Linked DNA regions of Homo sapiens: all the other regions are linked to region 7. Evidence: promoter capture Hi-C in 16 types of primary human blood cells and fetal thymus (Javierre and others, 2016). All regions are on one chromosome and are shown on one strand. The core of a region is centred on a gene start or on the middle of the fragment in contact, and the rest is flanking DNA. Distances in the headings are between cores, read along the strand shown.

Evidence for each region. Contacts are between HindIII fragments. The CHiCAGO score rates a contact against its expected background, and 5 or more counts as called.
Region 1: a fragment that was not itself captured here is called in contact with the fragment with the promoter of SEMA3D in region 7 in 1 of 17 cell types (megakaryocytes); the score reaches 5.1 in megakaryocytes.
Region 2: a fragment that was not itself captured here is called in contact with the fragment with the promoter of SEMA3D in region 7 in 1 of 17 cell types (naive B cells); the score reaches 6.4 in naive B cells.
Region 3: a fragment that was not itself captured here is called in contact with the fragment with the promoter of SEMA3D in region 7 in 1 of 17 cell types (megakaryocytes); the score reaches 5.7 in megakaryocytes.
Region 4: a contact is called between a fragment that was not itself captured here and the fragment with the promoter of SEMA3D in region 7, in 1 of 17 cell types (megakaryocytes). The highest score is 5.9, in megakaryocytes.
Region 5: a fragment that was not itself captured here is called in contact with the fragment with the promoter of SEMA3D in region 7 in 4 of 17 cell types (megakaryocytes, naive B cells, total B cells and 1 more); the score reaches 25.2 in megakaryocytes.
Region 6: a contact is called between a fragment that was not itself captured here and the fragment with the promoter of SEMA3D in region 7, in 2 of 17 cell types (megakaryocytes and naive B cells). The highest score is 5.9, in megakaryocytes.

Annotation. Positions count from the first base shown.
Region 1 is chr7:85,637,583-85,641,566 of GRCh38, reverse strand. No RefSeq gene overlaps it. Among named protein-coding and RNA genes, the nearest start is that of LINC00972, 220 kb to the right of the region's middle. The HindIII fragment of the contact is 3,192 bases long and covers 294-3,485 here.
Region 2 is chr7:85,516,023-85,519,756 of GRCh38, reverse strand. No RefSeq gene overlaps it. Among named protein-coding and RNA genes, the nearest start is that of LINC00972, 97 kb to the right of the region's middle. The HindIII fragment of the contact is 9,231 bases long and covers 1-3,734 here.
Region 3 is chr7:85,692,181-85,695,991 of GRCh38, reverse strand. No RefSeq gene overlaps it. Among named protein-coding and RNA genes, the nearest start is that of LINC00972, 270 kb to the right of the region's middle. The HindIII fragment of the contact is 1,530 bases long and covers 564-2,093 here.
Region 4 is chr7:85,595,952-85,599,956 of GRCh38, reverse strand. No RefSeq gene overlaps it. Among named protein-coding and RNA genes, the nearest start is that of LINC00972, 180 kb to the right of the region's middle. The HindIII fragment of the contact is 1,528 bases long and covers 753-2,280 here.
Region 5 is chr7:85,557,184-85,560,891 of GRCh38, reverse strand. No RefSeq gene overlaps it. Among named protein-coding and RNA genes, the nearest start is that of LINC00972, 140 kb to the right of the region's middle. The HindIII fragment of the contact is 5,073 bases long and covers 1-3,708 here.
Region 6 is chr7:85,578,789-85,582,501 of GRCh38, reverse strand. No RefSeq gene overlaps it. Among named protein-coding and RNA genes, the nearest start is that of LINC00972, 160 kb to the right of the region's middle. The HindIII fragment of the contact is 4,523 bases long and covers 41-3,713 here.
Region 7 is chr7:85,185,768-85,189,632 of GRCh38, reverse strand. SEMA3D (semaphorin 3D) reads left to right here and starts at 2,577. Exons shown (of 19, transcript NM_001384900.1): 1 at 2,577-2,955. RefSeq lists a silencer at 2,706-2,765. The HindIII fragment of the contact is 2,551 bases long and covers 1,576-3,865 here.

The DNA of each region.
Region 1 (3,984 bases), core at 640-3,139, 450 kb before region 7:
AATATAACTGAGTCATGGAGTAAAATTCCTCATATATTCACAGTCCCAGCGATTATGCAAGATGTGCAGACAGGAAAGTGGAGATGTTGGTCACAGTTAAAATTCTGCCTGCCATAAGAAGTGACAATGTTGAGTTTGGTTTAGTGCATACTGGATTTGAGATACCTCATCATTCGTGCAGAGTTATCATACCCATTTTTAAATTCATATGTTTGACCTGGAGAGAAAAGACTAATACTAAGTGTATAATTTTAGATTCCTCTCAAAATTATGATGATGAAATCACAGAAGCTTATCATAAAGAGTAAAAAGACAAAGAGAGATACACACTTTGGGTGAACACCTTTAGGAATGGTGGAAAACACACCAGGAAAAGAGAAAGCTGGGAGACAGAAAAGAAAGGAAAGTAGAAAAAGAGCCTAAATACATAATATTGCATAAATAAACACAGAAACAAAATTTTTAATAAGTGGGTGACATTATTGAACGCAGAGAGAAAATCTTTGTTATTAGCCATTGGAAAGACACTGTTGACTTTGAAGATAGAAATATTTTTCAGATTAGGGAGGGGGTAGAAAACCGCTTGCAAATGGTTAAGTAGTGGTGAGAAAAATCATCAGCAACTATCAATTAATTTTGTGAAATGATTAGTAGCCTAAGGAAAGAGCTCTAAATCCTGGCTTGATTCCTTTGTGAAAATATTACTCCCTTGTGTAATATATTAATGTAAAAAAGAAATAAAGAAGGAAAAATTGTGGGAGAAGAGAGGTGGTTGACAGGATAAGTCAAAGCCATATGCCGAATGAAATATTTCCTTGGAGAAATTTTGGCATAGAAGATAAAGCATTTGTTTGATCGTATTATCCTTCGAATGTCTACAAAGAGCAACAGAAAGAGGGATAAATGGCATATGTACCTTCTTGCCAGATAATTTTTTTTCTTTGTTTCTTCTGTTCCCTTAAGTGAAGGCAATTCCTGGTAAACAATTACCACATGAACTTGAAATGATAGGTGCTTTTATAAAAGTGAGTGTGTGTGTTGGGGGAGTGTGAGTGCATGGGGGTTGCAGAGGGAACATGCTAGCTCTGCTAAAATCTCCATTGTCTGTCTTCCAGACATTAATGCATTAGTCATTCAACTCACTGTATGAACAGATCACCTCTGTGATAGAAGAGGAACCCCTAAAACTTTCAATTCTGTCTCAAAGGAATGTTTCAGGCCAATGGAAGAGAAATATTTTTAGAATTTATTCATTTCCATTCCTCTTTGGCAGGCATTGAAGCAGCTTGACAGAGGCAGATATTAAAAATTCAAATTAAGTAAAAATATCTATTTTAATATCTTCTTAATTTTAGGACAAAGAGGTCACCAGTGACAATGCTGCACTAAGAGAAGCATTGTACTAAATAATCAGTAAGTCAACAACATGCATACTTTTTCAAACTCTAAGCAAGCATAGAAGTTATATTCAGTAGAGCAGTAAATAGCAGAAATATACTTCTCAACATCCAAGCCCAGGCCACTTCCATCACCGTATTTTTATTTTTCATAAAATTTTTATTCTTGCTTCTAAAGAAATTAAAGATGTGTTTTTGGTGTATTTTCTCTTTATTCACTGTATGTTTAGCACAATGAATGTTTTAATGATCATTGTTCTTATAACTGCATCTTCAGGATATCTGAAAATAACTGGACTTCATTTAAAAACTTTGTATCTTTGAGGGATTTCTATGCCATTTAATTTATTTTAATTTGTACATTTTTGTGCCATGCAAATCACTATTTAAGAGTAAAGATTATGAAAAATGCATAGAGTCCTATAAACAGAGATAGTGGTAACAGCTGCAACACAAAAGAGCAAGAGACTGTTTTTGTATGCCATTCATAATTTCAAAAGTCACTGTGAGCTGTTGAGTGAACATGGGAAATAATCCATATTTTACTGCAAAAATAAAATAACATGATTGGAAATATATTCTAAGAGTCAGCTTTTTCACCACTTACTAAAACTGAAAAATGTGTAACTTTAAAAAAGTTCTTGCATACATGTTATATTTAATGAATTCCAGATGATAATGCCAGTAAGACTTGGTACTGTTTTAAAACTCATTAAAAAATAAGCTAACAAAGAGCTAATATTCAGAAAATCAGGTGTTGTCTAGTGTCATTTAAACTCTCATCTTCTAGAGTCTATGAATTGCTCCTAAAATTACAATCTGTTGATAAACCGTGTTTTCTGGGTATTGATGGAAGTGTCAGGAATTTATGGGGTCCAGGATGCACATTCATTGGCTGTAATAACAGCTTTCCTTCATTCATCAAAGAAACATGAGTGCCCAGTGTGGAAAATGTTTTTTTCCCTCAGAATATTACTCTGAATTGAAGATCATTAAATGGGAGCTAGGAATTGAACATAGAGTGTGTAGGTATATCTTGTATTTTTACATTTTTTTAAAAAAATCAAAGTCAGGTAAAATTTAAGTACCCCCCTTCTTTTCAAAAAAGGACATTATGTTATTTTTTTAAGGTCAACAGAAAGGATCATGGTTTAAAGTCCAGCATACACATATGCCCAAAGGTTAGTGTCATCTCTTTCCCAGTCACCAAATCCATCTAACTCTATTAAGTCCTTCAAAAATAAACACAAGCCAAGGGTTTTTATCTTGGACCTTGCTTCTCTCACTTTTGCTAATATATTTAACACATGGTATTTACAAAAAAAATTTTATGTGGACATAGATATCACTACATAGTCTTTATCTCTGTGATGGTACTTCCTCAATCACATGAAATTTCACTCTTTACTATGTCATGAGGTTTAGTTCTGTTTAACTGGGTTCATCCATTAGGGACCAGGGAAGAAAATAGAAGCCATTCTGGACATTCTAAGCAGCAAGATATTTGACTCAAGGAATTAAACCGCTTAGGAAGTCATTATAATTGCTAAAAAAAAAAATAGGCTCCTGGAATGCATGACTTCCTTGAATATCTCCATAAATAATACAGCATTGAACCACTATAGCAGTTACTCTTCTGAGGCTATACTGAGAGCAAGAAACAACCACTATCATTCTGTAAGTATCTATTATACTTAGGAAGCTGGGGAGGGGACATTAGAATACCACTGTGGGGAAGCCCCATAAATCTATACTGCTAGCTTGCTGTGATAGTCAAGAGCCACAGGAAGCTAAGTGTAACCTCATTTTTGCCTTCCAAAATTTCATCAAATATATCCAATGAGCAAAACGCATTTTACATTTAGAACCAGGAAAGGACTCTGGGAAATTTTGTGTTTTAGCTTTTTAACCTCTGCAAGTAGGAGGAAATGGTAGTTAAAAGTGGCAATCCTAAGTACCCAGCTCTCATCTGAATATAATAGAGTAACTCACCTCAACTGACAGCAAACCAGTTAGGTGTATCAGTAGCCAAAATCTACAAGTCTAGTCATCATCTGTCATGGTAGCACTCACAAAACAGACTAAGCTTAATCACATCAGAAGATTAAGTGGCAGAATTTCTCATGCTCTTATATTTGATTAAATAATAAAACAATATTTAAGGATTAAAAATGTCTTAATTTCTTCACAGTAAGTCAGATACAATCCTCAAGACCCTTTGTCTAATGTTATTTTTGTTATAATAATGATGTTGTGGTTTTCATGGCCTCAGAGAAAACTTGTCCATTCTCATCTGCATAAACCCACAGCAACAACCATTGCCAAATATTTCTATTGCATGTCCTTATTGTCAAATACTAATACCTAAACTTGGCACTGTTGGGTTAATCATGCCATTTTGATTCAGTTTTATTTTGTCTTTCAAATGATTAATAGCACAAAACTGTACACATTAAGCCACGGACTAAAAATAGGTTATTACTGTACCCTCTTGGCCTTTCGATCAAAAGCAAATAGTGACAGCTCCTTTCAGAATAAGGAGCCCAGGATCTTTCTGCTGGGCTATTATGGAAAAGTTGGCCAGATT
Region 2 (3,734 bases), core at 795-3,294, 330 kb before region 7:
CTTAATTTTAGGAACAATTTTCCAAATATGGTTTCAAAATTGTAACACAAGTACTCCTGGGTCCATGACATTCTGGATTCTTTTGGCAAATATGGCTACAGATCCTTGATTAGATTTGAGCCTAAACATACCTACTCCAGTGAAGCTCTAAGTCTTTATTTCCATTAAATAGATGTGCTTGAAAAATGCAAATATGACCTAAATTCAACCATGTACTTCCCTTTTAAACACTATGAATAAATATTGTCAATCAATTGGTAGCTACTTTTAATACCTCAATGGTATTTTTGTTAGATATTTTATTTTTAGCAGAACAACGTGTGAAGCAGCTGAAGTCTAGTGATATTAACAGAATTTATCCATATCTCCTTAGTAGTAAACTGGTTATGCAGCCAGATCCAAATCAAATACTCCCGGACACTAGCTTATTGTAGTTCTTTCCACTATGCTGCAAAACATTATTAGGAATAAACATTCTTAAGAATTGTGCCGGCCGGGCGCGGTGGCTCACTCCTGTAATCCCAGCACTTTGGGAGGCCAAGGCGGGAGGGTCACGAGGTCAGGAGATCAAGACCATCCTGGCTAACACGGTGAAACCCCGTCTCTACTAAAAATACAAAAAAATTAGCCAGGCGTGGTGTTGGGCCCCTGTAGTCCCAGCTACTGGGGAGGCTGACGCAGGAGAATGGCGTGAACCCGGGAGGCGGAGCTTGCAGTGAGCTGAGATCGCGCCACTGGACTCCAGCCTGCGTGAAAGAGCGAGACTCCATCTCAAACAAACAAACAAACAAACAAACAAACAAAAATTGTGCCGTTTATGGTCTATGCCATTGAGGTACTTACATTCTAAAGAAGCATGTAACCTCTATACCACATATTTTGTACCAAAATTTTATATCACATGCTTAGCCATTGGATTTGGCATAGTGTTTTGTTGTTGTTGTTGTTCCCTTGTAATATAAATTACTCAGTTTCCTTCCTTCTTCTATCCTTTCTCCTGCTTTTCTTCCTCCTTCTATCTCTGTCTGCCTCCCTCCTTCCTTCTCCCCGAACTTTCTCCCTCATTCTGTCTCTCTCTCTTCCTCTCCCTTCTCATGTTCTTTTTCAAATACCAACTACAAATATCACACATATAGCACAGGCAAATGATAAGTTACTTTGATTTTTTAAATAATTTTCTATCATCTTATAAAGAATTATAGTTTTGCTTTTTCTTAAAAGGAAGTTATTCCATTTGTAATTTCTTCCAGAAGGGAATATATGCAACTGTTTTCTTGCTGCCAAGGTGGCCCATCCAAACATTTCTACTCCAAATGGAACAAATTGTATATTCAAAAATATGAGTAAAATTCTGAAATAAAGATTAATTATTTTTGTGCCATCCCTTGTGGATAGATTATTTTGCTTAGAAATCATATTTAATTTTTCTATAAATAATTTAGATATGTAACTCCTGCTAGAGTTGGAAAGCTATCTTATTTGTTCATTGTTTAAATATAAAATATTCTAAGTGTTCCCCCGAAATTAGAATTTGTTGGTTTTTTTCTAGTAGTTGAGTTTGAAATTTGGATTCTATCTTTATTTTACTTTCTAAAAGAAAGTATGTTCACTTTTGATTTACTGTGAAATTTTTTTATAATATGAGCATAAAGGTTTATATTTTCTAAAATTCAATCTGATTAATAGTAAACTCTTAAAATGTCTTTGCATGATAGATCATTTTAAAAACATTTCAAAAAAAAAAAGAAATCTTTAGAGGAAACTGACCTCAAGTATACCGTGGATCTTCTGTTTAATGGAGAATGATATCATGACAAAAAATGAAGCAAAAGAGAATCAGAAAGAAAACATAAATATTTTCTATGCAAAACCTAAAAGAATATTTATTATCTTAAGATGCTTTACTTGCTTTTTCAAGGGCAGAGATATGACTACAAGAATATTCATATGGGCTTCTCAGATTTTTAGTGTTACATTATCCTTAATATTTTTGGTTGATTGTTCATGCATAACTAATTTACTTTGAAAAAGAAAGTATCTTATGACCTATACTAGTTTATTAAATCATATATTTTAAATCGTATATTTTAAAGTATATGTTAAATTATTGACACATTTATTAAATTGTATCTGCTTTTTTCTGTTAATCAAATGTAAATTACTTGTGAATAGTCTCTTATTCTTTTAGGTACTTTATTTTGTATACATATGAGACTGATAAGTACAAAAAAGATATTTAATAAACTACTTATTTTTAATATATGTTTATTTAGAAACTTCCAGAAATTTTATTAGGAAATAATAAAGAACTAATGACAAGCCAGATAGGGATGGCGTCTCTATCTCATAAATATATAATATCATTCTAGTAAGTTGAAATCGACTTGGGAGTCCACCCAGATTTACATCATACTTATTTCAGTGAAAATAGACGTTTAATAATGATATGGTTCAGCATTTATTTTATAAAGATATCATTCAGCGATATAGTTTGATTCATGAACTCATTTTTTAAAGAACTAAAATATTTAATCTAATATGAATTTAAAACTTCAACTTTATATCTAGTAAAAACAAATTTGATTCCTTCAGTCCAAGTCTGACTCCTGTTTATAGACACCCTCCTATAAGAAAAGGAGGGACATAAAATTGTCTCTCACTCTTCTAGACTCAGGCCCCCATGCCCCACTCTACTTCCAGAGTCAGAGCAAAAATAAGGAGAATCTGGAGACCTAGAGATTCAGATATTTTTACTTATGCTGCTCTGGTCTCCTAGTTAACATTACCTAGCTACTCTGTGTTCTACTAAAAGAAGTGTCCAAATACTAACTCTTATATAGTAAATGTTTAGGTCCTTATAAGGCCATCAAGGATTTCCTCACTGCTGTCTTTTCTAACATGGATGTGTCATTCCTTGGCTCAGTTCTTGAAACTACTCACTTTCTGTCCCTAGCAGAACTACGGCCTCTAATGCTAAAGTCTTTGCAGTTCAACAGAAACCTTCTTAGATAAATATGGCTTGAAATGACCTTTTTGTTTTCACTTGGCTCCATGGAATACTCATTCATCCTTGCCACGCCAGAAGATGGCTGTGAAGGTTGCTGCTGCCAGTGCCCTTTCTCTTTGCCATGCTGTTAGACGCAGCTCCAAGCAACCTCTATTTAAAGAACTTCTCAGGTAGAAAGCAGCCAGCAGTCTCTGTATTCTTGGTTAGCTCAATGTTTTTATGGAATGCATGTCCATTTTGCCAAAAAGACCTTTCATAGCATTTGTCTCTGGTTTCTGTACTAAGGCAGGCAGTAAGATAAGAGTGTTCCCTTCTTGAAAGCCCATACTTATAAGAAATTCTCTTGTACCATACCTTTTGACTTTATGCAACTGTAGAATATACTCCTACAACCTCATGGGGAGAGAAGAAATCTAAAACACTCTTACTGTGATAAAATGATCTCCTAATTTCTAGTCTTCTTTGACATAGTTTGAATTTGAATTGGAGGTTGATGATAGGCACACTAGTACTGCTATCTAATATGTTCTGAATGGGTGAGTTTAGTAGACGTCAAGCAGTTATCAGCTATTATTCTCAGTTGCAGGAATTTGTATAAGATTTTTAGACAACAGGATATACCCTGTTAAATGTCTTGTTACTTATAGTTGATACAAATATTATAACCACCATGTAGCCCCTCTGGAAAGTGTCATTTATACTGGAGTCCATGTAAACGGTGCTCTGT
Region 3 (3,811 bases), core at 79-2,578, 510 kb before region 7:
ACTTTTACAGACATCAATAAGTAGCTTAATACATTTCATGACATAAAACAAGTCTTTCATACTGCACTGCAATATGCTCTTTGGCTTTGTACCTCCCTGCCACAATGCTGAACAAGTTGGCACAGCACTTCTAGAAACCTTTGCTAGGAGGAGACCATGAGCAATAAGTTAACTATGCACAGAAGTGACTACAAATGTAAATAAAAAGATATTGCACTAAACTCCGACAAGATATATCTCAAACATGCCCTTAGGCAGATTCCAAAAATGCCCATGACTACTTCAAAGCCACTTGACATTGAAGTTGGAGTAAAGAGACAATAATCTCAAGTGATTTTTGTTGAAATAACTTACTTTGGTACATTGTATTGAAAATACAAGTACATGAGAATACATTGCTAGGTCCTCTGCAAGGGCCCTGGAAGTTGCTCATGCAAGTAAAAAGGCATGGAGTTTAAATTATAATCTTATACAGGTAAAACAGCTTTAAAAATCGGTACTAATATGGCACTAACTGCTGCAAAACGTAAGATTAGTTGTAAACGTGAGAAAAAATATAAGCTTCCTTAGAAGATAACTAAGCAGACCTTTCTTTCAATTTTACCTGGAGTTTTGGGGGAAAGTATGTTATTTAATAGATAAGAAATATAAATGCTATTTATGTTTTGGTATGTAAAAGTACACTGATATATTCTCAGGTAGAATTACATTTTTTCCAGGATACACATCATAAAAACTTTTATATAAGTCTCATGCTTGTGGTATGTTGCTTTGGTCTGCTCCCTCCAAAATCTAGTGCCATGAATTTATTTTCTTCTTAAAAAGAACCAGTAGGTTATATATTTGAAATATTTATGATGGTTTAAGAATAAAGAAAGGCTTTTCATGTTAAGATTTTTTTTGTGTGTCAATAAAATAGAAATGAGTCCAGTAATATCAATGCAATATTAAATTTAAAAATACACCAAATTATCTTCAAAATATTGCTATAAAAAATTTATATCATTTTGTTTTGAAACACTTCATTCAAGAAACTTCATTTCATACTACTTCTGATTAAATACATTGACTTCAGATTATTGAACATGATTTCAAAAAACAGTGGCACAATAATAATTCATGGTTTGCCCAAGGTAATAAAATTTTGGAAACAAGATTACTATTGTCTCATGCAGAACTGTCTTCTCCCAAAACAATTAGCAATTCTCTCATGCAGAAATGTTCTCCCAAAACGAACTGAACACACTCATTGAACAATACATTTTCCATACATTTCTTTATAAGAAATAAATATATGATTTCAATAATAGTGTCACTAATTTATTTATATATATTTGAAAACTATAAGATTTAAAACTTAGGATAAAGTAAACATAATTATTTTGAGTGCTAGCATTAATTTCAAGTGCTTGATTAACTACTGCTTTTAAAAGCCAGGTGTATGCCATTTTGCATTTTATAAGAGCTAAAAGTATAGAAAAAGCCAGAAGCTATAATTTACTAGCCAATAGGCCAAACACTGTGTATGGTAGTGAGGATTAATTTTCAAAACCCTGCATCATATGATTTTCTGCTATCAGTAAACCCACTGTTTTATCACAGACATGTTGAGTTAGGAAAAATTTTCCCCAAATCATTAACTTTCTTTTTATGCTCTGAACCAAAATCACTTCCAGGAAAAAAAAAAAATGTGCTTAATTGCTGCCTAAGGAAAGTTTTCAATAGCAATTTGGTCTTTTTATAGGATGAAATTGCTTTTGGCATTTCAAAACACTCTTCTCACTTTGAAACCAACATAAAATCTGATTACTGTAATAGGACTACCATGTGCTCTTCTCTATCAAAACCTGATTATGGTAATAGGACTACCATGTGCTCTTCTCCATCTATAAATGCCTGCAGTCTCATGTACTCATGTACTGAAGAACCACCTGGATCACCATCACAAAATGGAGAACAGATGGACAAGAGACGTGCAGCATAAAGAAGACAACTACAGAGAATAAGACACATTATCATTAAAAATCAAGCTAAATTTATTATACATCTTCCTTTACATGATTTAAATTTTAGTATTTTGGAAAGTAAAAGCTTTCAATAAAAATTTCCATAAATACAATCTCCTTCCACTGGAAAGTGTCATTTGACATCATTATTATAGTTTAGCAGTGGAATGGATTATCTCTTGAAGATGTAAAAATCACTTAAAGGAATGCACAAAATGTATGAAATATGTATAAAGCTACTGTATGAAGCAGGCCATCAGTAACTAAGTGGTTATTAAGGGTGCGCGCATTACAGGCCATAGAGTAAGAATGTTAAAGGGAAGTGGCTGTTATAAAACATGGGTTGGTGACAACAGGAAAAGGACAGGGGAAAAGAAATAAAGGACAGTTATTTATTTATGAGATCTCAGCAAAAAATGCCTGAGATCCCAAACTTAATTGGTTGACTCAGGCTTCTAAAGCACATAAGAAGGCTGAGAAAATGGAGAAACAGGCTGCACAAATTAGGTGACTCCTTCTTGAGCTCAGCATTATGTGGAAACATCTAATTGAATAATTCACTTTGTGGGATTACAAATAATTACACAATTTTTATTCACAGTGTCTCATCATGTAATTATAACCACCTTCCTTTAGAGAAATTACATATTTCAATTTCATAAGGTATGAAATGCTATAGTTGTAAACAATATGAAACAAAAATTCTCAGACAGGGCCATCAATTACCTTGATTTTAATGTGTTTGGTGTGTTTACATGGCAAAAAGAATTATTTTTATTTTTAAGTAACCAGGATATGTTTCCAATATCACATCACATCACTGCATATTCTTTCTATAAGCAAATTTTATCATTTTTAGAGAATTACTATTATTATAATGCCATGACATGGCAATAATAATTTGCCTTGTAGATGTTTTTGCTGATACGTTAAACTTCTCAGAAGACATCAGTTTCTCTTTTGAATACTAACCCAAGAACCTGAATTCTACTTTTTAGCCATTTTCCTTATAAGTAAACATGATAAAGCCTTTAAAGCTACACTGTTGAATGCAACAAAAAAATGCTTTATGTAGATACTAACATGCATAATTTTATAAATATTTCATAATGACAATTACAAAAAAGTAACTAAATTTTACAAAGCTGCCCTAAGTGTTTTACACATACAGTCTCAATTCAGCAAAATGCCTCTGTAAGGTAGTACTATTTTAATCCCCTTTTTACACATATGAAAACTGAGCTTGAAGTCAGGTCACACCACTAGGATGTGGGGGAGTCCTGAATTTGAGCTCAGGCAATTAATTTTTAGTAGTGTTGTGCTCTTGGACACCCTATTATTCTGCCTTGCTATGATTTTGTGCATATATTATGTGCCATGAAGCTTTTTACAGTTTTTTTTGTATGTATTAATTCCAACACTCTTTTCTCAACCATATTAAATAGATACCATTATTATACTGATTTTATATATGAGGAAACTGAGGCCCTGAAAGTTGCATAATTTGTCCAATTCTGCCTCTTAGAGAAGAGGAAATATCTAAGACTTCTATAGATAGAAGAAAACTTAGCTGCCTAGCCTACGTGTCTAAGTCTAGATATTTCAAAACTGGATCCATTGCTGGTTGAATGCAGCATTAAAAGGTGAAGACAGATTGTCTGTTTTCTGTATAGGGCTTTCTCAACTTTTATTCAACACAGAACACGTATCAACTAAGCTAAATCCACCACAAAGAATGCTGTTTGCCTCATCATCTTAATTTCCACAATGAAATCTTCTATTTCAATTGCGAGCTACAGTCCAAT
Region 4 (4,005 bases), core at 267-2,766, 410 kb before region 7:
TGAATATATTTACACTGAGTCTCTACAACACAGATTATTTTTGTTGCTTTTTGCCTGTGTGTATAGCTGCTCAGGCTGTGCACCACACAACTCCACAAATGCCATTTGCATAATGGTACATTGCAATGAGGCAGCGGAAGTAATTCACCACTTGATAAAGTATAAAGCTTATTTTCTACTTAAATGAATACTAAATGTTATTCAAGACTCCTGGAATTATGCCAGTTGCTTTTTGATTTATAGTGAGAGAATCAATGGTAGGATCAATCATAAAGAGGAATGAGATCAAAAGCATTCACATACATAAGCTTTAAGGTTAATTTAGAGAGTTTCAATAAAATGCAGTAAGGCATGATTAGAGTGTTAATTCAGCTTTTGCAATAGAAAAATGTATAATACAAGGTTATGCAGTTACTGACAACTCAGTAAGTAAACAGTACCTAAGTTGGAAAACTCATAGTTCAAAAACGCAAGGTAGGATTAGTGGGTTGATAGTGAATTTTAATACACTGGATAAAAATTTAGATATTTTATAACTCAGTCTATTTTTATACTCTACCATCTTACAAAATAAATAGCTAGATATATTTTTATAGTGAAATTCATGTTTTAACATATTGTCATAATTAAAAGCTATGCCTCCATTACTCAATTATTGTGACTTTTATATCTTATATAGAGAGACATGTAAAAAATCTAAAAGGAAATAGCCATAATTGATATATTTTGCACATAAGAGAATTCTGAAAGCTTCTACTTATTAACTTGTTCATTTATGGAGTACAATCCATTCAAAAATATCTTTTTTAGATTTTCTCATTTCAAATTCATCTTTAGTCACTTAATATAAATCTCTTTTATTCCAGCTTATTTGGGGTGGGGTATATTTGACTTTTTAGTATGATTCAACTTGTCTAGAAATGTATGAATATGTATGATAGAAATGTATGATATGATATACAGGAGACATAGAGTATGGTTGCAAGGTATGTCACAACTAATTTTACCTGTGAATGTTTTACTTTTATTCAAATGAAATATTAAAAATAAGGACAAATTTGGAGTCATATGATTAAAAATAATGTCTACATTCTTGCCATTATTTGCCTTAAATGAGATAATTTTATAAACACCTTAGTTAAACAGTAAGAAATCAAAATAACAGAGTATACAGTCTTCAAAAAGAGGACAGCAAGGTCAAAGTGCAACCCTTCTCTTTTTTTCCTCCTCTGGAGAGTGAGCCAGCAATGTCACTTCTTGAGGCCTCATCCTCAGTGAAGAAATTCTTTTAAAAATGCCTTAAAACTTGAAGCTGTTCAATCGTAATATAAATGTCTTGATAAATTTCTGCTATGCAGAGTCTAGAGATAAGGTTAATTTGCCATCTAGTATAACTGGGAGCACAGACGAGTGGTTAGCGTTGTTTTACTTCACTTACCACATTATATATGTACATAAAATAGCTAATATCAAGTAAGTATTCAGCATTATCTGCTATTTTTATTGAACCTTTATTCAATATACATTAAACTTTGAATACTATATTTTATAAACAATGGATATGTTTTTCAACTGGAAGATTTCTATATATGTTTCTGAGTTTATGTTTTACAAATTGCCATTAAATTCTTTTTTTAACTTTCCTGATGCTTATCTCATTTTCCCTATCATAATTTTATACAGAGATTAAATGATCAATGAATTAACTTGTTAAGACATCTTGTAAAATGAAGAATAAAGTTAATGAGGGGAATGTCTGTATTGACAGCAACCTCAAATAATATAATTATAATATAAAATATTAGATATATTTTCCTATTTATCTACTTTAGATGCCCAGAAAATTACTCTTTAGCTTGTATTATAGGTCAAATATGCGGAATGATAGATTTAGAGCCAACTGAATATGAAAAGGAGGATTAAATAAGACTATATTTTGAAATGATTTTTCCTTTAATGTAATATGAAAATTGCACCCAATGTATGTTATACAACTTTTTCTTTACAAACACCAATCTCAATATACTACATCATTTTTATTGCAATTAGAGAAAACTGTGACTTCTTTCCATATTTTTATAGTTAAAGCAGCATTATTGTATTTCATCAAAACTAGTACCAGTGTCTTTTGAGAATAGAGTCTATAAATGCAAGAAACAAAGCTAAATAAAATTACCCATGGTTGATATTGGAAGGAAAAAAAGGAAAGGCTGGCTTTCATTCAACTTGACTTACATGATGAGATTAAACAATAACACATTTGAAGGTATAAGTGAAGCTTGGTGAAATTCTTATTGCTAGAATGTCAACTTGATTGGTATAATCGTTATCTATGTATAAATACAGAGTTTCAGAGAGCTACAACACTTGGCTTAGTGATCTGAGAATCCAAATTAGAGTGCCTAGACTGCCTGGAGCCACAGGTTTAAATCCTGTCAACCAACCCCTTCCTTTTTCTGAAGCAGATAAACTAGGTCCAAAAAGCCAGCTCTTTGTGTGAAGTGGGGATATTTCAATGACACCTCCAAATCATAGCCTGGCTATATTTTACAGATATTTAAGATTATTTTGTCTGTTTGTTCAATAGCACAACTTTGTATTTGCAACAATTCTGGGACTCAGAACAAAACACCAGGTACGCCTATAACCACCTGCTCTCAATAGGGTATTTAAAATTCTTAAATATTTTTATTTGTTTCATTGACACTGGAATTTTTTAGAGGAGATAAAGATAAAAGGAATAATTTTGTACAAACTCCAGGAAGATGACCTTTGATAATAAGATATTTATAAACTACTTTGATCATCCAGTTAACAGTTGAAAGGGAAAAATAAAGCATCAATTGGGAATATACAGTGGAACTCCTAGGTCAGAAAGCAAATGAGATTCAATGAAATACCAAAGCTATGGTACTCAGGGGAGCTTTAATCACTCAGACATCTGTTAGGCAGCTAATGCAACCAGGCACGCACACCTCATTAAAGGTAGTCCTCAGTTATTCAGATGACAACGTAATGGTCCTGAATAGTAAGAAGAATTTAACCAGTGGGCTAAAATGTCTTGATTTACTTTTTCAAAAAAATCTGAGGGTGAAAACAAATATAACAAAATTTGCCTTTTTTCAGAAGAAAAGCAAGAATATTGTTCAAGTAAAATAGCATACTTTATTTCAAGAAAGTAAAGTGTTCAATAACTTTATTAAAAAGGTAAGTTAGGTTATGAAGAGAATTAATAAAGAATAACAAGAACGAGGTCAGACAATCTATACACTTCCCATGTGACTTGATGAAAAGAAACTAAAAATTCCCTTCAAGAGTTACAAATAAAAATGACAAAATAGATAGGTAGATGAATAAGATTCTTTTCTGGTAAGAAAAGATTTATTACAAATCGTTTTTTTCCTACATAATCTTTATTATTTTTCTTAGCTAAAATAATTAGCGGTGTTTTTTTAAAAAAAAGTTATTAAATAAGGAAGGTATTTTAAACAAGTACCAGAGGATTTAGAAGCTTCTAAATTGTGTCTCATGTACTGAGTTTACTGAAAGCATTGATAAACCTTGAAGTTAATCCGCCTGCTTTGGAATAACTTACATGCCAATTAATCATCATCGCAATGAACAAAATCTACTGAAAATATTACCTTTTTGTGGACAATATGTCATATTTAATTCATAATCATAAACAATATTTTCACAGCTCTCTTGATGAGATCACTTACAGAATTCTTTGACTAAGTACAAGACACTTTCAGGAAGCAAAAATTTTCTCTCTAATCCTCTCTCAGCTATGGATGAGAACAGAACAGAAAGACAAGGACACAATTCAGGAGAATATCTGCAAGAAAGGAGCAAGAAAATCTTTTCTTGATGACTCATTGCTCACTTTATGCCAAAATATTTGAGAAACAAGATGTTTATTTTAGAAACTAAGGACTGTTTATGATGGACAAATATTCCTTTTCTCTCCAGAAAAAGGTTTCAAATATATAGCAGCAACAGCTG
Region 5 (3,708 bases), core at 393-2,892, 370 kb before region 7:
TAATGTTACACCATGGGTGAGCTTTATGACCAGGGGCAGAATAAAAAACCAGTGTTCAAAGGGATGTGACATATTTAGATGTATCATGGGCCAGCATCAATACTTATAAGGGGGTTATAATTCCACAGATAAAAATTGGAAGCTGTCATTTTTTAAAACAGTAAGTCAATGAGTTACATGTGTGACAGTATCACTGTTTAGGCTACTGTTGTGGCTAATTTGTTTGAAGCTAAAGCCAAACATTACTAGGCAATAAGAAGTAGAATGCTCCGTATATTAGTTGTTTATTGGTATATAACAAATTACAGCCAATGTAGCAGCTTAAAACAACACTCATTTATTATCTCACAGTTCTGTAGCTCAGAATCCGGTTTACCATAAGAGGTTCTCTACTCAGGATCTCACAAAACTGAAATCCAAGTATCAGCCAAATCCAATTGTCATTTGGGCTCAGGGTTCACTTCCAAGCACATTCAAATTGTTGGCAGAATTCACTTCCTTGTGGTTGTAGGACTGAATTCCTCAGCTCTTAGAGGATGCCCATCATTCTCTGACACGTGGCAGTCTCAACAACATGGCCTGTTGCTTTCTCAAAGCTAGTAGGTGAGTGTTTCTGGCTTCAAATTGCTGACTTCTTTTAAGAGCTTACATGATTTGGTTCGATTCTCCCAGAATAACCTCCTTTTTCAATAACTCAGTATCAACTGATTAAGAATGTTATATCTTTAAAACAACATCTGCCATATACCAGGGCATAATCATGGGAGTGACATCTCATCATTTTCATAGATTTTGCTACATTCAAGGGAAGGAGATTACATAGACTATGTAAATCAAGGAGCAGTAATCTTGGGTACCATCTTAGAATTCTGCCTACGATGTCCCATATATAAGAGATATGGAAATATAGAGATACGGAAATATGGAAATATGTGGGTTGGCCTTAAGTAGAGTGGTGGGAGGGGGTGCAGAGGCAGGGAAAGTATTGACTTCCATTCCAAAAGGGAAACTAGGATACCATCAGTCACCCAAATTGAAGCCAAATTATATGAGCCCTGCAAAAGCAGCAGAAATTAAACTCAAATGGCAAGTGAATATTTAGGGTTTATCCCAACAAGACACATACTAATATAAGATAATCTTGGATTATCTGGTTGCATCCATCCTCCTAAGTCCAATTATAAGTATCTTTTAGCAAACAGAAGAGAAGGTCATGCGAAGACACTGGCAGATACTGAAGTTATGCAGCCACAAGCTAAGAAGCACCTGGAGCCACTAGAAACTAGAGGAGACAAGGAAAGATTCTCTTTAGAGGCTTCAGAGAGAATGGCCCTGCTCACACCTTGATTTTAGATTTCTGCCTTCCATAACTGTGAAAGCATTTGTTGTTGTTGTTGTTGTTGTTATTTTAACCTACTAAGTTAATGGTAATTACTTACAGCAGCCCTAGGAAACTAACACACATTCCTTGGGGCCATGTGACTTGTGTTGACCAGTAAAATATGAGCATCAATGAAGACAGTCACTTTCAGGTGGAAGCATTTATTAGTACAGGGCCCTGTAGCAAGAACTGAGACAGTGATTGTGGACACGTGAATCAAGACGATGCTTCCATCAGCCTGTGTCTCTGACTGACTTAACATATTACTCCAGCTTATCTACTCAGGGTATGTATTAAAAGGCATCAGTAAATAAACTTTTGTGGTTTTAAGCTACTGAAATCTTTAGCCCATCATTTACTGCAACATGACTTAGTCCATATTCAAGATTAAACCAGGCAAAAGGTATTTGGGGATTAATAATTTCCTGTTGATATTAAAATGAAAGATTTTACTAATGCCCTCATAATAAATGTATTCCAAGTTCAAATTTTGCTCAGTAGAGGTCCAAAGAAATGTTAAAATGAAGGATCATAGGACTTGGCATTAAAAACACCTGTGTCGAATTTAATTATTCTTATTTTCTTTGGGCAAGTTCCCTGAGTCTCAATCCTTTTTTGTGCAATATATAAGTAGTAATGCTGGTTCTTTCCTCACTAAGTTTTGTGAGGCTGCAATCAGATAATTAATGGCAAACTTTGTAAACTATACAGAATTTCATACGTATAAGTGATTTCCATTCCACACCTGTGATGCCAGGGAGCTACCTACACCATCATATTTTGGGGCAAGTATCTTATGAAGTGGACAAAGTCTCAAACTTCACAAAGTGAATTATACAGATGCCTGATATTTCCATGTAGTCATGAATCCCAGTGACATATATCAGAAAAACGCTAAACCCAGAATAAAAGAAATACATTCTACAGACAAATCTGCTAAAGGGGTCTGTTTGTAATTTTTCCTTATCTCCAAGATAAAGGAAGAGCTTTTTTTGGCTTGGAGAACTTGCGCTATTTCTGGAATACAACTGAAAGAGGCTTCAGAAACAGAAGACAATAACCACATGCAGATATACCGGGCTTTGATATTTGGAGAGGCTCAAAACCTGTACAAGTCCCCCAAGAAGACGGTATTGGGCCCTGAGAAATCCTTAATCAGTAATTGATTTAGAAGATCAGGCTGAAGATACAGTGCATAATAGAAACAAATGGTGACCATGAGAGGAAATAAAATGACCTTGGAAAATAAAGTTGGAACAGCAAGAAATGGTGGAAACAATATTGGTTAATATTGGGTTATGCTATATTTGATAAGAAATAGGAGCAGTTTGTATGATTATAGTAGTTTCTATGAGAATTCAGTGTTCTTTGTTTATCTCTCCAATTAATTTCTGAGAAATTTAGTTCAGAGATAATATAATGATTTAGTTATGTCATAAACACAGGTTCTTTTTATCTTGCTACTTCACCGTCTTGTTCATGGCCTTCATTTTAGAAGTCATTTTGTGTCCTAACATGGCTGATGGAAATTGAGTCATTACACTTGTGTTCCAGCATCAAAAAGCAAAAAGGGTGAAGAAAGCCTACTATCTTCTTTTTAAGAAGACTTCCTCGAACTACTCCTAGACACTTCCACTTACTTATCATTGGATAGGAATAGTCACAAAGCCATTTCTAGTCATATAGCCACAGAGAGGCCAAACAAAACCAACCTGTAGCTGCAAGTCTTGTTACTTTGAGTATATTTGTTACTTAGGAGGGAGAGAATGCATGTTATTGTAGGTAAAAGAGCAGTGTCTAATAAAGGATATGAAGATCAAACTCAAAATGGAGGATAAGGATAATTAGAGAACTAATAAAGAAAAAATATTCAGTAGATACTTATTTATAAATTCATTTATCAATATATATTTATTGGGGATAGTAATATGAGACACCTGCTAGGTCCTAAGGCTACTGTGGTGAATAAAACAACACATTTGCCCTCAAGCAAATTGTAAGTTATTGAAGGAAGACTTATAAAGACAAATAAATAATTACAAAGAAAATTTAGTTATAATGAATGGTGAGAATAAGGCTAGAAATGCTAAACCACAGATAACCTCTTTCAACATCTTGAAAATGCATGTCTGCTTTATCTTGATCAGAAAAGTGTCTTAGACCAGGGCAAAAGGATTGTGTCAGTGAGGCTCAGAAGTCGGGAGATCCATATTAATGTTTTAAGGAAAGTCAAAATAATGGGGCTTCACATCTGAACACATGCGGTGATGGACAAAAAAAAAAAAAGAAAAATAATGGTAAATCTAAGATTGTATTTCTTCTAAGTA
Region 6 (3,713 bases), core at 1,053-3,552, 390 kb before region 7:
TATTTTACCTAGAGTTTGGGGGGAAACATGACCTGAAGCTTACAAAGCAGACCTTTGGCAATAAAATAAGATAAAATAGAATATTTTAAAAATCGCACATTTAGCAAGAAGTTACAAGATCTCAAGACTCGGTTGAGTAAAATAATTTAGATAAGCAAGTTGGGAGCAAGTGTGAAGATACTGATTTGATGTTCATTATTGCACACTCTATATGTTAATTAAATTTTTTTGGATGAAAAAAGTATTTATGTAAGAAAGTTCTACATTTCAAACATTCTTAAAACTTCTAATGCCAGAGTACAGGCAAGTATAGGATATTTCTGCTTTAAAAAATTAGTAAAATAGTACATTTACTCATAATAGTTTATCATGGGCTTTATAAAGACCTGAATATTTGAATATTTTGCCACAGTTAAACATCTACCCAACCTCACCTTGTATGAAATCTGAAAAATCTAATTTATGCTAGAATATCATGTTCAATGGGAATAGATAATAGATTCCATGACTAGTCATCCTTAAAAGTTACACAGGGTACTGCATGCATAATATGAACCTAGGGGTTTCACAAAAGCCAAACTAGCTTAGTTCTTAGAACAGATATTATCATCATTTGGTCAAGTCATATATTAGATTTCAAGAGTTAATACGTTTTATGTTTTCTTTTAATCTTACAGTGCACTAATTCAGCACTTTAAAAAAGGTTAAATTTTTCAAAAGGTTAAAAACCTAACTATAAACCACCTAATGTTTTATAAAGTTAAAAACACAAATCTTATCACTATTCATACACTTTCAGCTTTCTGCAGCACATTAAAAGTGTCAAAATCAGGGCTAGGACTTTTGGGAAGAGAAGAAAGCTATATGTGTATATATTCATACACACATATATACACACATGTATATATATATGTGTGTATATACATACATGTTTATGTTTAAAGCTACATTTAGATTATACCTTGCTTTCTGAAATTTGGTTTAAACTCTGATTTGTAACCTTTCAGTACGGACTAGAATAGCACACACATACAAAAACATGGTACTATATCTGTTACTGTGGAAATATAACAATCACACATTTAACTATATGGAATCAGCAGAGATTAACAGCAAGAGCGAGCAAGGGTGCAACAGAATGAGAGAGAGAGAGACTCTCACTGCCATTATACTCAATGACTCAATGACTCAAGGACCATGTAACTTTAGTTACGTGGTCCAGGTCTACAACTACGTCAAGCCCACCTCAGCATGATGTAATGTTATTGGCAAGTGACATGTATAATCTCAATACTTTAAGAATTAAGAAATTTTTCAAAGTAATTATTTTTTCCAAACATTATTTTCATTTTAGGTACACATTGTGAAACTACACTTTTCAATCACACAAATCTGCAGTACAAACTCAATCAATTTTTTTTGAAAAATATAGTCAAGTGTTTATAATTAATTATATTATATATGTGTAAAAAATAACATATATAAATTAGACTAAAAGTACTACAGTATAAATTGAACATACTTGTCAAATAAAGTTTAGCTGGAGTAATTTATTTTTTTAATCTGCCCATTTATCTAATAATTAAAGCATAGACATCATAAATTATCAGTCACATTATTTGCAAAGGTTGTATGAGCTTAATGGATTTGCAAAAGAAATAATCAAAAGAAAGATTCCCTGGGTACACTTGGATATGTCTTATTTTGTAGTGTCTAAATGGAAATATAATTTTGCTAATTGCAAATTTTATTTTCCAATTAGAACATGAACCAACACATTTTTAAACACTGTATTAAATCTTCATTTGTTTAAGATAATCATTGTTTTGTTCTATAAATTCCCAAATAAATTCCCCGTTGCCATGGGTGGAATACATAATTGGTGATCTTTCTTTCCTTGTCTCTCCAAACCCATCCAAAAGCCTAAAGAGAAATTATTTGAATGGAGTAATGTGAATTGTAAAAAACTTCCCTAAGCTAAAATCCTTATCAAGCAACTTTAACTTTTGAGTAAAATCCAACCAATTAAGGCTATGAATGTGAATGTTATGAATCAGAATCACTGATGCAAATTTTATTTGTCCAATGCTTTAAGCATAAAAATTTTGTGAACAAAATGGGGTTTGAGAACCTTAGGCTCATACCCCAGTTTCAGTCTCATTGTGAATTTAAGGAAAATTTCAAAAGCATGTGTACAATATAGCTATTATTTCTATAAAGGCTTCATAGTTTATTTTTTTGGGAAACTGTATTTGTATTAGAATTTTAAAAATACTCATAAGCCGGTCTATCCTTCCCAATTATTTGTTTTTCAAAATGACATTTGGCGCTTGATGTACATGAGACCAAGTTTTACCTCAAAATTTTTTATCACTTACAGGAAAAAACAGTCTCTTTGTCAGGTATAGAATTGAATAAACTTTTAAAAGAGAGAGAAACTTACCAATAACGGAGTCTCTGTTATGTGTCCTTTAGTATCTTAAGCACCACCACAATATTTCTCATTCATGCTATGAGTCAAGTTATTATTATTATTTCTAGTTTACAATTATTGGAGAAATTAAGTAAATTGCAAAAGATCAAATGCTAATAAATTGGTTGAACTCAACTCATTCCTCTTTTTTTTACTAAGTCTTATTTGTTTTCCAATTAGATTAATGACTTGTAATTCAACCATTTAAAATGTGGAAAGGACTGGGTCTGTGATTTTCACTATATTTGATAATAAGAAGAAAAATCCAATAACAAAAACAACTTATATGAATTTAGTGTGCATTATATTCTAGGAACTATATTAAGTAGATTATTTTGTGAATTATTACATTCAATCATTACAAAACAACATGACATAGGTATTATTTTATAGAGGAGAAAACTGAGACTTTAGATGTAAATGAAGAAAACACAGTTTATAAATCATAGGGCACAAATTTGAACACAGATTATTCAGATTATTCTGACTCAAGAGCACACACAGGAGTGTACCACTGGCAATGAATGATGTGTTATGCTTCTGCTTATACATGCCTAAAACATCCTTATGAGCCTTGGGAATCCAACTACCGTGACCCTCAGCCATATACATGCATACAATGAGTATTAACTGGTTTAAAGTAATTTTTAAAATGTCCTGCCTTTTAAAATTCAATCCTTTTTAATGAGAGAGAGAAACTGTTAAGACTGAACATGTTAAGACTGAAGAAAATATACAGAATACATATGATAAATTCCATCAGGCCATCTTCTGATTATTGTCAATGATTCTTCATTAGAATAAAGATAGGCTTAAAAAGTATTTTTGGAAGATGCAGACTGTACAAGTTCAAAGTTTATTTTGTAATTACAAGTTTTGATAAAATAATGATCTTGCATATGTAAACTGTGAAGGGTTTTAGTTAAGGTAACATTACAAACAAAATTATTATGGTTTCATTTGTTTTTATTTTTTTACGTTTAGAATAAACACACAGTAAATCAACTTTTAAACTCACTTTCTTTTTCACTTTCTTTTTGTCAGACAGTGTTTTACATAAATTGGCATCTGTATTTTTGAGTATGCGTTAGCTCAGCTTTTTTATTTCTCAGTAACAGTACAGAGAGAATGTCTAGTTTTGTCATTCACGGTTTATTTTTAAATCTAAGATAGAGATAATAGATGCCTGAATTTTCTTTCTAAATTGTCTTTTCTTTTGAATGCATTTTGGCTTTTCAGA
Region 7 (3,865 bases), core at 1,328-3,827:
ACAAGCAACAATTAGGTGGTTTTAACTGATGATATACACATCGCTTTCAGTGAAATTAAGGCTCACTCGTTAAATCTTGAATAGTCACCCTTGAAGACAAACTAAACTGCACAATACACCTTGTATTTTAGCAAAACTTTTTGTAAAATATACTTTTTTTCCCACTGGGTTTTATTTTAAGAATTTAGATAGGGTATTAGCCCTATAGGACAGAATACCAAATTGCTTTTGATGAAAGTAGATCTCAAACTCTTAGAAAGGGTTGTTAAAACTATCTTGGTGGGACCCTATACAGTTATTAGAAATTCAGAAATAAATCCAGTGACTGAATATTAACATTATTTCTACTGTTTTTATTAACTCGTTTAACACACAAATATTTGTTAAGCACCTAACACATTCAAGACATTCAGGGAAGCAGCCTGAAGATTACGGAGCCATGGACACAGCTGAGGCCATTCATCACATTGGGCAACATATTAACAGTTGATTCCATCTGCTTTGTGCTCAGAGTCATTAAAAGGAAGGAAAGCACAGAATTCACGTTCCAGATGTTGTTTTCTCATGATATGTTCAGGATACTCTGGTAAATTCTGTCTAAATTTGAAGTCTGAGCATCTCAAACTAAATCAGTACAATACAATGTCACAGGCATTGTATTAGAGGCTGAAGAAACAAAGACACAAAACAGCCAACACTTTTGTATGGGATGCAGACACATGCATAACTAATTATAATATAAAGTGAAAAGAGCTTATTATAGTAGTGAAATCAAAGTGCTTTGGGAAAACAGGAGGGAGTGATTAATTCTGTAAGGGCTTTATGGAAAGTATTGAATGGTAGCAAAGGAAGGTGTCATTTGGTTTAAGCATATTAAGCTACAACTTAAAAGAGAAAGGAGGAAAATGGGAAATCCAAAGTTAACCACAATTCTAGTTAAACACAAAATTCTGGCCAATAAACTGACAAAATTATTTAAAAGTTTAAAAATAGAGATTTTCTAAAAATCAAAAACTACTTACTATAAACCCACCATATACGGGAGAAAAAAAGAGATATTTTATTTGCACAATGACATTGCAATTTGCATGGAAGTGCAATGACATATACAAATGAAAATAATATAAACACATAGAAACATACAATAAACAATTGCATGACTATGTACAGAATGAGTGGTATAACATTAAATATAAAGCATTCAGAAAAAAAATAAAAGTTGCTATAGTTTGAAATAGTCTACGAGGATTTAAAATTTTTTTCTCTATCCAAAGAGGGTATTTATGGGGTTGATTGGTTGTGAGTCCAAACCAAGGTTATAGAGATGGGGCAGCATGAGACACAAGAAAGAGCCTTGGTCAGATTTGAGAAACCTGAGCCTTTCCTTAGCCTGACTCTGCCATCAACCATTTATAACTTAAAATGACTCCTTTAGCTTCTGTGGCCCTCAGCCCTCTGCCACAGATAAAAGGTCAAATGAAGAATGTCTTCCACCCCTTTCAGTTATTCCATTACTGCATTTGTCTGTTCACCATCTCCAAATCAAGATATCTCTTGTTACTTGCTAAGGAAGCTTTGGGACCCTACACCTTGTGCTCTTAAATCAAGCTGACAAATGCAGGATCCCGTGGCTGCTTGCTTTCCATGTCTCTACCTCATGTCAGATTTATGTTTGGGACTAAGGGCAAGGTGTGTGACTATAAACCTGGATATCCCATCACAAAGGATTTACCATGCAGCTAAAAATGCCTAACGTACAGGGCTCACCAAATGCACAGGCCTTTTTAATGTCCCTGACGGTGGCCTCATGAACTCTCATTGTCATATATTTTTGCAGAATCTGTAGAAGTGAGATATTTCTGCATTACTTTTGCTTAAAGAGGATCCTCTATTCCAATTGCATAGGATCCAGGTTCATCAAAACTTAGATCTTCTCGTCATTATATACTTCTAAGTTCCTACTGTGTGAATAAGGGGTGCAAAAATCTAAAAAACTCCCGAAGACAAGGATATGAGGCACACCTCTTTGTAGGTCTGGCGTAAGGGAAAGAGGAAGAAAGGATTACATTCTACTCGTTTTTATCTCTCCCTGTTTGGTCTTAATCGGGTGCCAGCCCCTTAACGGAGGGTTGATCCCTGTTCCTCATCCCTATGCCTGCCTTGTCAAGGCCATTAACCGTGGATTGAGGTTTTACATAGTGGAACGCAGGTACTGTTTTGTGGGATTAGCATTTTTAGGACGGTGTTTGTGGTCACTCTCCCTGTTTCTTCCTCATGGGGTCCCTTAACAGGTTTTATGGTATAGAGAAGGAACTAAAGAAGTCCCCAAGTCACCCAGAAGGAAGATCAGACGTTAGAGGTTGCTTTACACATAGGGTGCCCTGTCCTGATAAACATCCGTCAGCGCTTGGCCAGGGCTACCTCTAAATCCACGCTGCTGGCAGCCTCCGCGCAGCAGGGATGAACTTCTGCACGCTTGGGAGTTCTGGCGTGCGCAGTGGAAGGAGGGGGCGAGGGCTGGGGGAGGAGATCGGAAGGGGAAAGGTAATCCCCGGCGTTTTCAGCATCCTCTTTTTAGAAAGACTGAGTCTCTCCCAGGACAGCTGCTGCGGTCACACCACAAACTTAAAAGCCGCCCTCCTGTTTGGAGCGTGCCTTTCCTCGCCACCCTCTCCTCCCCAAAGCTCCAGCTGGTGCCTTGCTCTCCGCCTGTCCTAGCGCGGCTCTCGGGGGAGGCAGCAGCGCCCCCTGCCTCCCGGCCTGGCCCCTGCGGCCGCAGCTTCCCGGCTCTGCCAGGGCTGCCGGCGGCTCCGCTTGCTCAGCCAGGGCTGCGGCTCAGAGGAACGCGCGCCGGTGCCCCGGGTTGCCGCGCCGCTGGACCTCAGCCTGCATCCCGTTCCCCTCTCCCTGAAAAGGCACCAGGAAAAGAGAGAGGGAGAGAAGAGTTCACAGCAGGTAAGTCTGGTTTGGGTCACCTGCTACTCCAGTGGGAGGGTGTGCTGGAGACCGCGGTGCTAAGCGGGGATAGCCGGGATTTGGGGGTGGCTGTGGGTCCGAAGTGGAGGACGAGCATGGTTTGGGAGATAAGGAACCGTCCTGAGACAGAGAAGGCTCCCGGGAGCGGACAGAGAGTGGGCGAAATCGGTGCGCAGTAATCGCGGCGCCAGCTTCAGCGCGGCCCCTGGGGCGCAGTCCCACCCCGCCTCAGCAGCTGCGGAGCCTTCTGACGAGCCTCCGCCTGGCAGCACTGCACAAAGTTTTCCTCCTGAGACGCGTCCAGGAACTTTGCTCTCTCCCTGGCTTCCTGGTTCCCCCACCACCCCTCCTGGTCTGGGCAGCAGAGAGCGTCTATGAATGTGTCCCCGGCTTCCGCAGGCTGCAGGTTCATTTGGAGACGCTTTAGTCGGGAACATCCGGGGAGTACTTGACCAAAGGGCATCTGCGCCCTCGCTCGCTCCTTTCCTTGTTGGTCTGGGAGAAGGGAAAGGGGCAAGGAAGAAGGAAGGGAAGCGTGGTGGTTTTTGTTGTAGCGTTTTGGAAGAGGAATGGGCGACGCCTTTTTCTTCGCCGGGGAATCGCGACGTTCCGTCTGATGGAAGTGTGCATCCTTTTAGATTTAGAGGGAAAGTTGGAGTCAAACAGCAGCCACAAAGCTGGCTGTCTGAAATGTGGTTAAGGCAAAACACTCGGGGGATCTCTTTGTAGTAGTGGGCTTGGCTCGCTTTGGAAAGGCCGGATTTGACTCGTGCTGGGCATTTAACCAGGAGTGCGGTCCCCAGGGTGTTTCCTCCCGGCTTCTGCCCAACGAGCCTGGAGTTAATGCGTTAATGGGCTACCCTGGTAGCGCACGGGCCGTTTTCGGCAC